2 separate regions of the Homo sapiens genome follow, and region 2 is linked to region 1. The links are contacts of gene promoters, found by promoter capture Hi-C in human tissues and cell types (Jung and others, 2019). All regions are on one chromosome and are shown on one strand. Each heading gives the region's core, a stretch centred on a gene start or on the middle of the fragment in contact. The rest is flanking DNA. Distances are from core to core; before and after follow the strand shown. Region 1 holds the start of GCLM (glutamate-cysteine ligase modifier subunit). Region 2 overlaps DR1 (down-regulator of transcription 1).

Region 1 (6,679 bases), core at 2,291-4,790:
ATCTGAAATCACTGCCTTATTAGATAACCAAGGACACAGTGTTTTGCATTCTTCTGTGGGCAATCAATGAAAACACAAATGAGTAACTAGAGGCAAGCCCCTGAATTGCAAAAGCACTTTCCTAATAGAAACAGCAGACACTAAACTTCTGAACTATCTGAACTATGACTGCTTATGATAAAAACTGATACAATCACTTTACTACGTATATCTTAGTACACATGATTACAAGAGATAACTGGTTTATCAATTTAAGGGCACAGAACTACCTATGTTAAGATTTACAATCCATAATAATAATTTACATGCTAGTCACAACAATTCACTTGAATTCAAATTATAAGGTCTAGATCTTTATGTAAAGCATATTTATAATCAAATTTAAGTCAGTGGATGAAAAGGAGTTGATAATCATTCCAGATACAATTATAAGTCATAGTATTTTCTTAAAAATTAGTAAAAATGGAAGGAGCAGAACCAACTAGAGGTTAAAAATTCTATCGGAAGTGCTTTGGCTCAAATCGTGGGATAATTCTAAGAAATTTCCCTCTGGAAGGATGGCTCATTTGCACACTTGAGGCTTTCCTGATGAATTCCTCAATTCAGGAAGGTAAGTCTATTTTTATAGTATTCACCCTCTTCTTGAAACCATTTCTTTAATTAATCTTGGATTCTGCAAAATGTCAGGACAAATAATAAAACAGTCTAATGTTACAATTACGTAGGAAATTCATTGACTTTATCACAAGCCTAATTATTTTTAATCTTGTAAATTACATGTTTGCTATATTGACTAAACATTAACCTTGTACTTGGGTTAATGTTTGTCATTAACATTAATGTTTATGTTTGTTCTCCGCTCTCTTCATTCTTATAATACACACCCAATATCACTGAGTATAAGCATCACCACAACTTAGCCTACCATTAGATCTGGAGTTGTATAAGAATTTTTTAAATACCATGATTCAACCGGTCAAACACCCTTACAACAAAGAACTGGGCAAAACAGTCCTATAATGGTCCACTTACAAACTATTTGATTTCATAAAATTCCAGTGAGACAAAAAATCTGGGCAGAGGTCATAACATTTTTTAAAAAATTAGAACTAGAAGAGACCTTGTAAGAAATTTAACTGAACTCTTGACCCAACACGTACATTTTCTCAAAAATAAGTGATTTGTTCAGTTTACTTAATTTCTTCAGTGAAGCGGAACTGTTCCAAGTAGTACATCCCAATTTGGAGCTCTGGGTGTTACAAAGTTCTTTTACATAGAAACAAAATGTGCCTCCCCTTTTGCTCTTACCAAGCAGTCATAGTTTCCCTACAGTATGATGCCATTCCTTCAAGTTTTCCTGAAATGTTTTCTAGTTTCTTTAGTTTTATCCTACTGTTATGAAGCACCCTAAATAAAACACTAGAAACCAGAATTAGTCCTTTGAACAATGTTTTACAAACTGTGGTGTGTGACTCTGAGCATCAAGAAATCAACATTTTAAAAATTAAAATAAAAGAAAAAATCAGAATATACGGTATAAGGGCTAATATCTTTTTGTGAAACCTGTTTCAGATATACTGATTATACAACTATTAACTGGATTGCAAAGTAAAATGTACTTCTTACTGTGTTTGCAGTCAGAAACTCTTTTGAGTCACTACTTTAGAGTATGCTATTGTGAGATAGGTAAAATTTCACCCAATAATATCAATATACGTGCAAAATTCTGTATTGAACTACCACCAACAGTACTGGAAGAAATTAAGAGTCTATGTACCGAATACAGAAATATTTATCTGTGGGAGAAACAGCCAAAGTAGGTGGTTTAAATAAAACAAAACATACACACTGAGCTGGAACGTGAACACAGAATATGGTACAGACTCAGATTCCTACTAAAGTTACAAGCAAGAGTTCTCATCTCTTGATGGGCACTGACCCCAACAACAGGCCTGGGCACAGGTCCAGCACTTAACTCAGAGGGATGCCGTGTGCTGCTGCATGGTCTGTTACCAACATCTCATAGAAGAGAGCAGAAACCACTTAGGAACACAGCTGATTTAGGAAGGTTTTTCTAAACACACATAGTTTAGGAAGGTTTTTCTCTTAATTAAGATTTATCTTTCTGATGGAACCAGATGACAGGGAGATAGATGCCTGCATGGTGAGCGTTTTCATATATTACCTCTTAATTCTCACAACAACCTGATGAGGAAGGTGTTATTATCCAACTTTAAAGTAATTTTCCAAAGTCATATAGCTCCTAAATCTAAAGATTTTGTTATTTTTTAAATACTAAAATTGTCCCATACCACCAATATGCACAATGTGCAGTGGATGACTATCCGCTCAGAAATGGCCAACAAATAGGTAACAAGTTTGTAATTCCAGATTAATCTCTGTCACCTCCAACTAGTGACTAGTCTTTTTATTTTCCAGTTTTTACAAAACTTTAATTTTTGAATTGATAGATTATATTTGTACATATTTATGGGGCACATGTGATATTCTGTTACATGCATAGAATGTACAATGATATTGTTACATGCATAGAATGTGTACTGATAAAGCATACATAGACGCACAGATAAGTGCATAAAATGTGTAATGACTAAAGTCAGGGTATTTAGGGTATTCCAAAGCCAAAATTGAGTGCTTACTCATTTGCCTCACTGCAATAGAGAGTCTAATGTCAACATTCTAAAAGTTAGGTGTACTATGAATACTACTTCATCTGAATGCACCAAAGGATAATCTCCGAAAATATTCCTTTACCTGGACAGGGTGGGGGAAGGAAGCGAGAGATGTGGAGAGAGACGGAGCGACGTCCTGGCCCTCTGTGACCTCCGTGCCAGGAAGAGGGACCCAGGATGTTTGAGAGTTTTGCTACCAGCCTTAAGCACCGAGAGAGGTGTCACTCAGTGCGCAGCTGCACCGGCTAAGTTTTTTAGACGCGTTGCCCTCGGCAGCGGGTTTGGACCCAAGGTCGCGTCGACACTGGCCTCAGCATCTGACCGCGGGCGGAGCCCAGGTGCGCGCGAGGCCCTGCCACCCTCCCTCGCCCGCGGGCGCTTCTCCCTTGCCGGAACCGCCCGGCCCCGCCCGAGGCCTGCCCCGGGAGCCCCGCGGCGAGTGTCGCCACGCTCACCTCCTCGCTGTGCGTGGACGGGCACTTCTTCCGCAGGCGGCCCCAGTTCAGCAGGTTCCCCGTCTGCAGGTGCAGGGTGCGGGCCCGCGCCAGGAGCGCCTTGGCCGCGCGGCTGTCGGTGCCCATGGCAGCGGCCGCCCAGGGGCCGCGCAGCGAAGGGGCTGCGGGCGGGCGGGCAGGCAGGCGGCCGCCCCACAGGACGCGGTGCCCGAGGCCCGAGAGAGACCCGAGAGGGAGCGCGAGGCTGCCGGCGCCGCGCGGCTGGAGCCTGGTCTGCGCTCGGGCCCGAGGGAGGCCGGACGGCGGCTGGGCGGCGGCGGGAAAGGAAGGCACCGGTGGCTGCGGCTCCGGCTCCGGCTACTGCGGCCGCAGCGGGAGAGCTGATTCCAAACTGAGGGAGCTGTTTCCTGGAAGACAATGACTAAGCAGAAATCGTAGCCGAGAAAGTGCTTCGTAACCGTTACTCATCCCGCGGCGGGGCAGGGGCGGGGCGCGAATGGGCTGCGGGACGCCGGCCCGCAAGTGACTGGCCCTTGGCCTGCGGCGGGCGTGGCGACGGGTGGTGCGCGGCGGGCGCGCGGGTCGAGAGAGCGTGGCGGCGCGGCCCGGAGCGCAGCGCGCGGCAGGGCTCCCCCTGGCGGTCAGAGGACAGCGCGAGGCAGACACCGCCTCCGCCTGGTGAGGTAGACACCGCCTCCGCCTGGTGAGGTCTCCCGGCGTTCAGGTCGCGGCTCCGCCCACGGCCGCCCCAGGGTGGGCTTCCTACACGTCTCTTTAAAGGGCAGCCTGAGCGGCCACCGGGACTCGGAAATGCTACGTAGTTTTCGTTCTCAGAAGCAGCTGTTTATGCGCAAGCGCCCCCTTCTTCTTTTCGCTTTGCTACCTTCAAGGACCTTCTCCCAAACTGCTAATTTTTCTTCATCCGTTAAAGGTCTATTGATTCACATTATTTGCTGGCAGTGTGTGAAGTCAACGAACAAGACTGAGTCTTTGCCCTTGAGACGCGTACACTCTACCCAGAGACAAGTTCTAAGCACAGGAAACAAGTAATTTTATAAGAACATCATAGGGCAGTTATTCTCCAGATGAATTCAGATTAAAGAGGACACTTGAGCCGGTGAGATCACAGAAAGCTTTTATCACCCACCCCTTTAGAGGTGGTCGAGATTATTTACCCCTATTAAATTTCACGTGTGGTGGTGGACTCGGTATAAACATCAAATTGAACATGTATTGAGCTTTCCTCAACAATCTTTCACATTCGTTGAGGTGAATCAGATTATTAAAGGCAAAATGAGATTCTCATTATAAGCGGGGACAATATAGCTATTGAAAAGAGAGATGAACCAGTTGGTAAAATGGTAAGAATTAGGGGAGGGATGGGAAAAAAGATCTTTCTAGGAAGTTAGAAATTGAGCCTGATGTTGAGTAAATATTTGTTGGCTGAATGAATGATGGTAAGAGTTCATTGAACGAGCTTGCGCTGCTTTTTTTTTTTTTTTTTGGATATTGATTTTTTATTATAGTGAAAGAGCTACCCACAAGCACCACCACTACTTAAACACATTTTGATGCACTGTAACATACAATTAACATTTGTTGTAAATAATTCCAACATATACAAAAATAGCAAGAATACTATAATGAAACCCGATATAACTATCTTCTGAACTCAAGATTGAATAAGATTTGTCTATACTTTTTGTTTTATAATACTTTAAGTTCTAGGGTACATGTGCACAATGTGCAGGTTTGTTACATATGTATACAAGTGCCATGTTGGTTTGCTGCACCCATTAATTCGTTATTTACATTAGGTATTTCTCCTAATGCTATCCCTCCGCCAACCCCCCACCCCATGACAGGCCCCAGTGTGTGATGTTTCCCACCCTGTGTCCAAGTGTTCTCATGGTTCAATTCCCACCTATGAGTGAGAACATGCAGCGTTTGGTTTTCTGTCCTTGCGACAATTTGCTCAGAATGATGGTTTCCAGCTTCATCCATTCCCTACAAAGGACATGAACTCATCCTTTTTGATGGCTGCATAGTATTCCATGGTGTGTATGTGCCACATTTTCTTAATCCAGTCTATCATTGATGGACATTTGGGTTGGTTCCAAGTCTTTGCTATTGTGAATAGTGCCAAAATAAACATACCTGTGCATGTGTCTTTATAGTAGCATGATTTATAATCCTTTGGGTATATACCCAGTAATGAGATCGCTAGGTCAAATGGTATTTCTAGTTCTAGGCCCTTGAGGAGTCACCACACTGTCTTCCACAATGTTGAACTAGTTTACACTACCACTGACAGTGTAAAAGTGTTCCTAGTTCTCCACATCCTCTCCAGCACCTGTTGTTTCCTGACTTTTTAATGATTGCCATTCTAACTGGTGTGAGATGGTATCTCATTATGGTTTTGATTTGCATTTCTCTGATGACCAGTGATGATAAGCATTTTTTCATGTGTCTGTTGGCTGCATAAATGTCTTCTTTTGAAAAGTGTCTGTTCATATACTTTGCCCACTTTTTGATGGGGTTGTTTGATTTTTTCTTGTAAATTTAAGTTCTTTGTAGATTCTGGATATTAGCCCTTTGTCAGATGGGTAGATTGCAAAAATTTTCTCCCATTCTGTAGGTTGCCTGTTCACTCTGATGGTAGTTTCTTTTGCTGTGCAGAAGCTCTTTAGTTTAATTAGATCCCATTTGTCTATTTTGGCTTTTGTTGCCATTGCTTTTGGTGTTTTAGTCATGAAGTCCTTGCCCATGCCTATGTCCTGAGTGGTATTTCCTAGGTTTTCTTCTAGGGTTTTTATGGTTTTAGGTATAACATTTAAGTCTTTAATCCATCTTGAATTAATTTTTGTATAAGGTGTAAGGAAGGGATCCAGTTTCAGCTTTCTACATATGGCTAGCCAATTTCCCCAGCACCATTTATTAAATAGGGAATCCTTTCCCCATTTCTTGTTTTTGTCAGGTTTGTCAAAGATCAGATGGTTGTAGATGTGTGGTGTTATTTCTGAGGCCTCTATTCTGTTCCATTGGTCTGTATCTCTCTTTTGTACCATGCTGTTTTGGTTACTGTAGCCTTGTAGTATGGTTTGAAGTCAGGTAGCATGATGCCTCCAGCTTTGTTCTTTTTGCTTAGGATTGTCTTGGCAATGCAGGCTCTTTTTTGGTTCCATATGAACTTTAAAGTAGTTTTTTCCCATTCTGTGAAGAAAGTCATTGGTAGCTTGATGGGGATGGCATTGAATCTATAAATTACCTTGGGCAGTATGGCCATTTTCACACTATTGTTTCTTCCTATCCATGAGCATGGAATGTTCTTCCGTTTGTTTGTGTCCTCTTTTATTTTGTTGAGCAGTGGTTTGTAGTTCTCCTTGAAGAGGTCCGTCTCATCCCTTGTAAGATGGATTCCTAGGTATTTTATTCTTTTCAAAGCAATTGTGAATGGCAGTTCTCTCATGATTTGGCTCTCTGTTTGTCTGTTATTGGTGTAGAGGAATGCTTGTGATTTTTGCACATTGA
Region 2 (6,361 bases), core at 3,760-6,259, 550 kb before region 1:
TCAGTTCCTTTGAACAACCCAGCAACACTTCTTCACCCTGGTTGCATCAGTTTTCCTGTAGCAGAGACTGAACGCGGTTTGCATTTTCTCTAATACACCACCAGCCTGAACCCGCACCCCATCCCCCCACTCTGGCAGTGTGGATCCCAACCCTTGGGGCCCTCCTCCAAGCGCAGATATATTAGTACTAGCTTATCTATGCCCATTCTTCCGAGGCCTGAGTTTCAGTTCCATGAAGTGGTTTCTTAAGCTTCTAAATTTTAAAAATTCCAGCATTTTCCTTTATTCCCTCAGTTTTAGGGTTGGTGGCTGCTTCCTGTAGCTGCTACTTTCATGACATCTTCATGTTCTCTTCCTGCCTTTTCAGCTCCCTAATAACAACTTTATACTTGTTTAACAATTCTTCGTATTAAATTTTTTCCATTCCAGTAACTCATGTGACATCTATCTCTTGATTATACACTGACTGATGCCAGGAGGAGAAAATAGTATTTCAGTTTGACTTGAAGGAAGGGTAGAATTTCAGTAAGTGGCAGGAAATTTCACATAGGATGAGTGTCAGCATGAGTAAAGGTAGCAAAGATGAGGAAGTATGGTGTATATTTGGGAAACATTTTGTGTTCTAGGCTTTTTTGAAGCACAAAGTACATGTTACAAAAAAAGACTATAGAGAGGTTGGGGTAGACACTAATTTGGAAGACCTTGAACTCTAGGCTAGGAAATTTGGATTTGATTGATAACAAATGATTTTTTTTAAAAAAATGAAATAGTGACCTGATTAGAATTTATATCTAGAAATGTTTGGATAATAAAGTCATGACAGATTATTCAGAAGAGTGAGGATTGTACATGGTAAAATCTTAAATGTTACTGGTTATGCTGGGCATCACTGTTTTCCTGTAGCATGTTCATTCAGAAAATACTGAGGGCCTTTATGTTAGGAATGCAACAAAGAATATGGAAACAATCTCTATTCTCAAGTGTGGTGGAAAAAAAGGATATAAACTTAGATAATTCTAGAACAAAGTGGATGGATATGGGAATGCATAGGGAATTATGGTATATTAAATAGAGCATAAAATATGGCTTGGAAAGGTCAAGAAAGACTAGCTGATTTGCATTTCAGATGATGACTAGGAATTAGCTATGCATAAAGGGGAGGGTCTGAGTTGGACTTAAAGAACAATTCCAAGAACAGACAGAGAAGGAGAAAAGGATTGTTTTGGCAGAGTCTAATGGGAAATTGTAAGACCTTTTTAAGAACAGGTTCATTTTTTCCCTTCTTGGTGTGGTTTTTCTGCAAACAGATGAAATTAAATTGTGAAGGAGCCTTAGCTGTTTCATAGGTAATTAATAATGTATGCATCCTGGTTTCTTAAATCCTGTGGTTGTTTTTAATAGAGGATATATCAGATGAATGGATTTTAAGTAGTATCTTTTTACTAGTGTGTATACGGGAAGGATATGTATATTTGTATGTGTGTATATGCAAATGTGTGTACTTACAGAGAGGGAATGAGGGACACAGAGAGATAGGCATATAGTAGGTTAGGGAATTGTAATAGAAACTCAGAAAGAAATAATGGGGTAGCTACTGCATACATGTACAGTACTTCTTTCCTATGAGGTAGAGGTACTATACTAGAGAACTTTTAAACCATATAAATAAATTTTAGATTGAAAAATGTTTGTATCAAAGTTGTAATATGAGGGTACAGAAGAGTCAAGTGAAATGAAAGGAAAAGAAGAGGGAAAGAGCCAGAGGGAATATTGTGGGTTTTTCACAATATTGGTTCCACTTTTTCAACTTCTTCAGTTGAATCAAAGGTCATAAATTACGTGAAATAAAACAGGGCCATTTATAAGAGATCCAAGTTTGAGAAATTTCTTAGACCTGTGTAGTTAGAAAAAAGCAATCTCTAATTATATTTACCTATAGAGTTTATGTTCTCCAGATGTGTGACAATTACATAGTACTTGGACAGTATCCAAGTATGATAATAAACTGTCTGAAATTGGCCTAATCTACATTTAACCAAAGTGTATATATTGTGGGTTTGTAAAAAATTGTTATTTTTTTTTATGTTTTGGGTGTTTAGGCTAGACAGCAACAAGCAGAATTGGCCCAACAGGAATGGCTTCAAATGCAGCAAGCTGCCCAACAAGCCCAGCTTGCTGCTGCCTCAGCCAGTGCATCTAATCAGGCGGGATCTTCTCAGGATGAAGAAGATGATGATGATATCTGAAATTCACCAGCTGAGTTTCTATTTCTTCTATAAATGTTTTTCCCTGCACAACAAAAACAGTGAAAGAAATGCTTATCTGTAATTTTGTATGCATCTTGGTGGACTTGTCATTGGTATTCTAGGGATGTCTGCTATTAAGTTTCATCTATTGTGTGCTATACATGTAAAAACTGTCTCTTTGAACTATTGAAAATTTAAGGTTCAGTATAATATCAATTTTGAATTTTTAATGGTGTTTATGAAATTTTAGATAGCAGCGAGTCCTTCGTTTGATCAATAAACAGTGTTACAGATAACTTCAAGTTTATAAAAATACAGTGAAATTTCTACAAAGCTCTAAATCTGCATTTGCATTTCCTCTGCCCTTTTAACTAAACTAAAACTTGTGAATTTTAAATTATTAAGGGGGGGGTGCTGTGTGAATCAGTAGACATTGGATTGGGTTGGTGAAAGAGTTCAGTTCTGTAGTATCTGAATTTGTCTTTTAAAATGAGTACATATATAGGCAATAAATATATATGCTCAGATCAATATACTTGTTTAGAAAAACTTCAAGACATTCAAAAACTAGGAAGGAGTATGTTTAATAGTATTTGTATAAATTTGGTGGTTATGTTTTTTTATTTTGTTTCTGTTTTGTGTAGAGGTAAAAACTATAGTTTTATTACAGCATAATTCATTTTGAGCTCCACTATGACATTTCAAAGACTGCCCAGTTTGGAAGTCTGTCATGATTTTTACTCTTTCACTCCAATTCAGTAATTGTTGATAGTATTACTTACCTAGTCCATCCATACTCATATTATTCAAATATATAGGTGGTACTTTTGAAACAATTACATTGGTTCTCTTGGTTTAACTGAGGTTTATGAATATTCAAACCTTTGCTGGGGGAAAGAAATGAAAGTTAATGAGCATGCTTGCTATGAGAGAGGGATTTTTAATTTAACTTGTAGTTATAGTTTACTTATTGTTTTTAGAATTACTTTTACATTTTCCCAACTAGATGGCCTAGAGTCCAACATTACCTTTTGAGATGACATTATTGTCTCCATAATTGAGTGATAGCTTTAAAAAAAAGATTAGTTTTGCTTAAGAAGTTATGTTACAACTGATCAGCCCTATATGAATTAACTGATCAGCCCTATATGAAACATAAGTTGTGTTATAACTTATCAGCCGTATATGGAACATAAATAGTTTCTACCTGCTTGTTAGAGAAGCTTTAATTTGGTTCTAATAAATACAGTATGGTAGTGTTTATAGGAATCCAGGATGTTGAAGAAATGGCATAATGTCTATATTTTGGAAACAGAAAGGAAAAGTCACTTAAGATAGTATTAAGTAATTAAATTCCTATGTCAGTTGCCAAATCTTTTAAACTTATGTATTCACCAAGCCCAAAAATAGATTGTGGCTCCCAGGATTCCAATTTTAATTGGAGAGCTAAGTAAGTAAAGTTTTATAACTGTTAGGTTTCTTAATGATCATATTTTGCAGTTTTAGTAAAAGGGAAATATTGTTATACATTTATTAAATATACTTCCCCCATGAAGTGAAAAGGTTAATTTTGCTGAATGTTTTAAGTTGAAGTTACTTCATGGATGTCATACCCATGAAGTGCATTTGGATGAGATAGAAGAAATTGTTTTTTAAAAAGTTTAAGTACCAAAGGTAGTCTAGTCTAGAACGATAAGTTAATACGTGTTGGCTTTTCTAATTTGTACTGTAACATCCTTATACTTTCTATTTTAAGTATATCTGTTTCTTAAGTAAACAACTTAGATATTTTCCACACCTTTTTTTTTTTTTCTGATGCAGAGTTCAGGTTAATATTTTACTGCATCTGATAATGTATTATACGTTTGAAGCCTAGTGACTTTTCATTTTGACATTCTTGTGATTTCATATGCTGTATTCTTCAAGCAATAAAATTGTGATGTGTTTTATAAATGGTTTTTATATTTAATGTTCTATAGAGAGATTTCTATTATTACCATTTTTACTATTTTCAAGAATCTTAGGCCCAAAAGACATTTTGGTCATTTGGTATGTAGTACCTGCCTTTTGTTTTTGTTTACTGTTATTTCAAAAAATGTGGTTTTACTTGTATTTTTATAATTTACAGTCCTAAGATCGAGGCATAACAAAGCTTACTTATGCAATATTTTATTTTTAGGTTTTTTCTTTTTTTTTTTTTTTTTTTTTTTTTTTTAGCATTTAAGAGTCACTATTATGTTTTGCCAGTTAAAATTTTTTAAATCTTTTGAAGAGAGAAACAAAATCTTCAGCGTTCTTGAGAAATAAAATTATTGTTCAGTAAGTATTTTTCCATCCCCTTGAATATATGTTATATATTCTTTTTCGGCAGATTATCAGATTAGTAAGTGTTTAAAAGGCATCAGTTTTTAAAACTGCATATACCACACACACACAAAACAGTACACAAATAAAGGTTTTCACAAATTAAACAAACTCACATACTAGTCTTCAGATCAAAACACAGAGCATTATGTGTACCCCAGAAGCCCTCCTCTTTCCCCATCTTAACACTGTCTTCTTTCTTGCTGAAAGTTACTATCCTGACTTCTAAAATCATAGATTAGTTTTGCCTGTTTTTTATTTTATGTAAATGTAATCATACATAATACACTTTTTTTCATTCATCATTTTTGTGAATATTTTAGTTTCTTGTTGCCACTGTAACAAACTACCACAAACTTAGTGACTTAAAACAACACAGATTTATTCTTTTATAGTCCTGGAGATCAGAAGTCCAAAAATCAGTTTCATTAGGCCTAAATCAAAGTATCAGCAGGGTTGGCTCTTTATTGAGGTTGTGAGGGAGAATGTTTTCTTCCCTTTTTTGGCTTCCAGTGACGGCCTGTATTTATGGGCTTGTGACCCCTTCCTCTCTATGATCAAAGCTTGCTTTTGTCATTATATCATCTTCTCTTCTGTAGTCAGATCTTTCCCTGCCTCTAAGTTTAGGGCTCACCTGCATAAAGCAGGGATAATCCCCCTATCTCAAGATCCTTAATTTAATCACATCTGCAGAATCTCTTTTGCCATATAAGTGACATTCACAGGTTCCAGGGATTCATACGCTGGCTATCTTTGGAGGCCGTTATTCAACCTGCCAAAGTGAGATCCATTCTTATTGTTGCATGTATTTGTAGTTCATTCATTCTCATTGCTGTATAGTCTTCCGTTTGTTTATCCATTTTTCATTACATCCAAAAGTTATTCATTCTCCCATTAATAGTCTTTTGAGAATTTTTCAATTCTGAGCTATTATGAATAGTACTGTGTAGAACATTCTTATACATGTCTTTTGGTGAGTGTATACATTTCCATTGAGTATAAACCTAAGAATGGAATTGCCAGGTTGTAGGGTGTGTATATTTTCAGTTTTAGTATTTACTGTCAAACAGTTTTCCAAAGTGACTGTAAGAAGGCACCATTTTAATGTGTAGCATAAAAATGAATTACGCTAATGATCTTAGTGGGTTGAATTTCTCGAAACACCTAAATTGTACCAAATGAGTTATATTGCAGCAGGTATGTTGTTAATTTCATATAACAGGAAAATAAGAGCAAAAGTAATTGCCCTTATTAACTGACACATTAGTATTACATACTCATTAGGTTATTGCTCCTTAGAAAAAATGCAAATTTTAAGTAATCGTAAGTAGTATGTTGAATTAGTATGTTGTGGGAAAATCTGTGATTTAATTTTTTAATTGAATTTTAAATTTTGGGTTATAACCTCATTAAAATGCATGATATTTCCTTATATAGGTTTCTAAATTATGTCTGTCCAACTCATCTATATCCAAATGGCCATTAGGAAGAATTATCCAATTCAGATGGCATAGGCACTGCCTTCCAATTTCTTCATTTGTATTTTTTTGTTGCTGTTTTCTTTTTTGCCTCTGTCCCCAACAATTTGACCACAAGTCCTACCCCACCTCCTCTGTTTTTCACCATCCCCCAGGATATAAAGTGTCATGGTTAGGATCGGCCAGGGTGAAGAGAATGATAACATAAGTAGCCTCCTTTCACCTAAAGTATTACCACTGGTTCTTATCCTATTTCCTCAAAATAAATGAGAA

The links. The method cuts DNA at HindIII sites, captures the fragments that hold promoters and counts their contacts. A contact is called where the count stands out against the background at its distance.
Region 2: a contact is called between a fragment that was not itself captured here and the fragment with the promoter of GCLM in region 1, in 1 of the 25 tissues and cell types used here (thymus).

What each region holds. Positions count from the first base shown.
Region 1 is chr1:93,905,890-93,912,568 of GRCh38, forward strand. It overlaps GCLM (glutamate-cysteine ligase modifier subunit), which reads right to left and starts at 3,541. Exons shown (of 7, transcript NM_002061.4): 1 at 3,149-3,541. The coding sequence starts at 3,274. LOC124904221 (a long non-coding RNA gene) reads left to right here and starts at 3,703. Exons shown (of 2, transcript XR_007066230.1): 1 at 3,703-4,265. RefSeq lists silencers at 2,955-3,004, 3,055-3,414, 3,625-3,864 and an enhancer at 3,905-4,064. The HindIII fragment of the contact is 8,708 bases long and covers 1-5,743 here.
Region 2 is chr1:93,358,394-93,364,754 of GRCh38, forward strand. DR1 (down-regulator of transcription 1) reads left to right here. Exons shown (of 3, transcript NM_001938.3): 3 at 2,100-6,361. The coding sequence ends at 2,246. Among named protein-coding and RNA genes, the nearest start is that of DR1, 16 kb to the left of the region's middle. The HindIII fragment of the contact is 6,300 bases long and covers 1,860-6,361 here.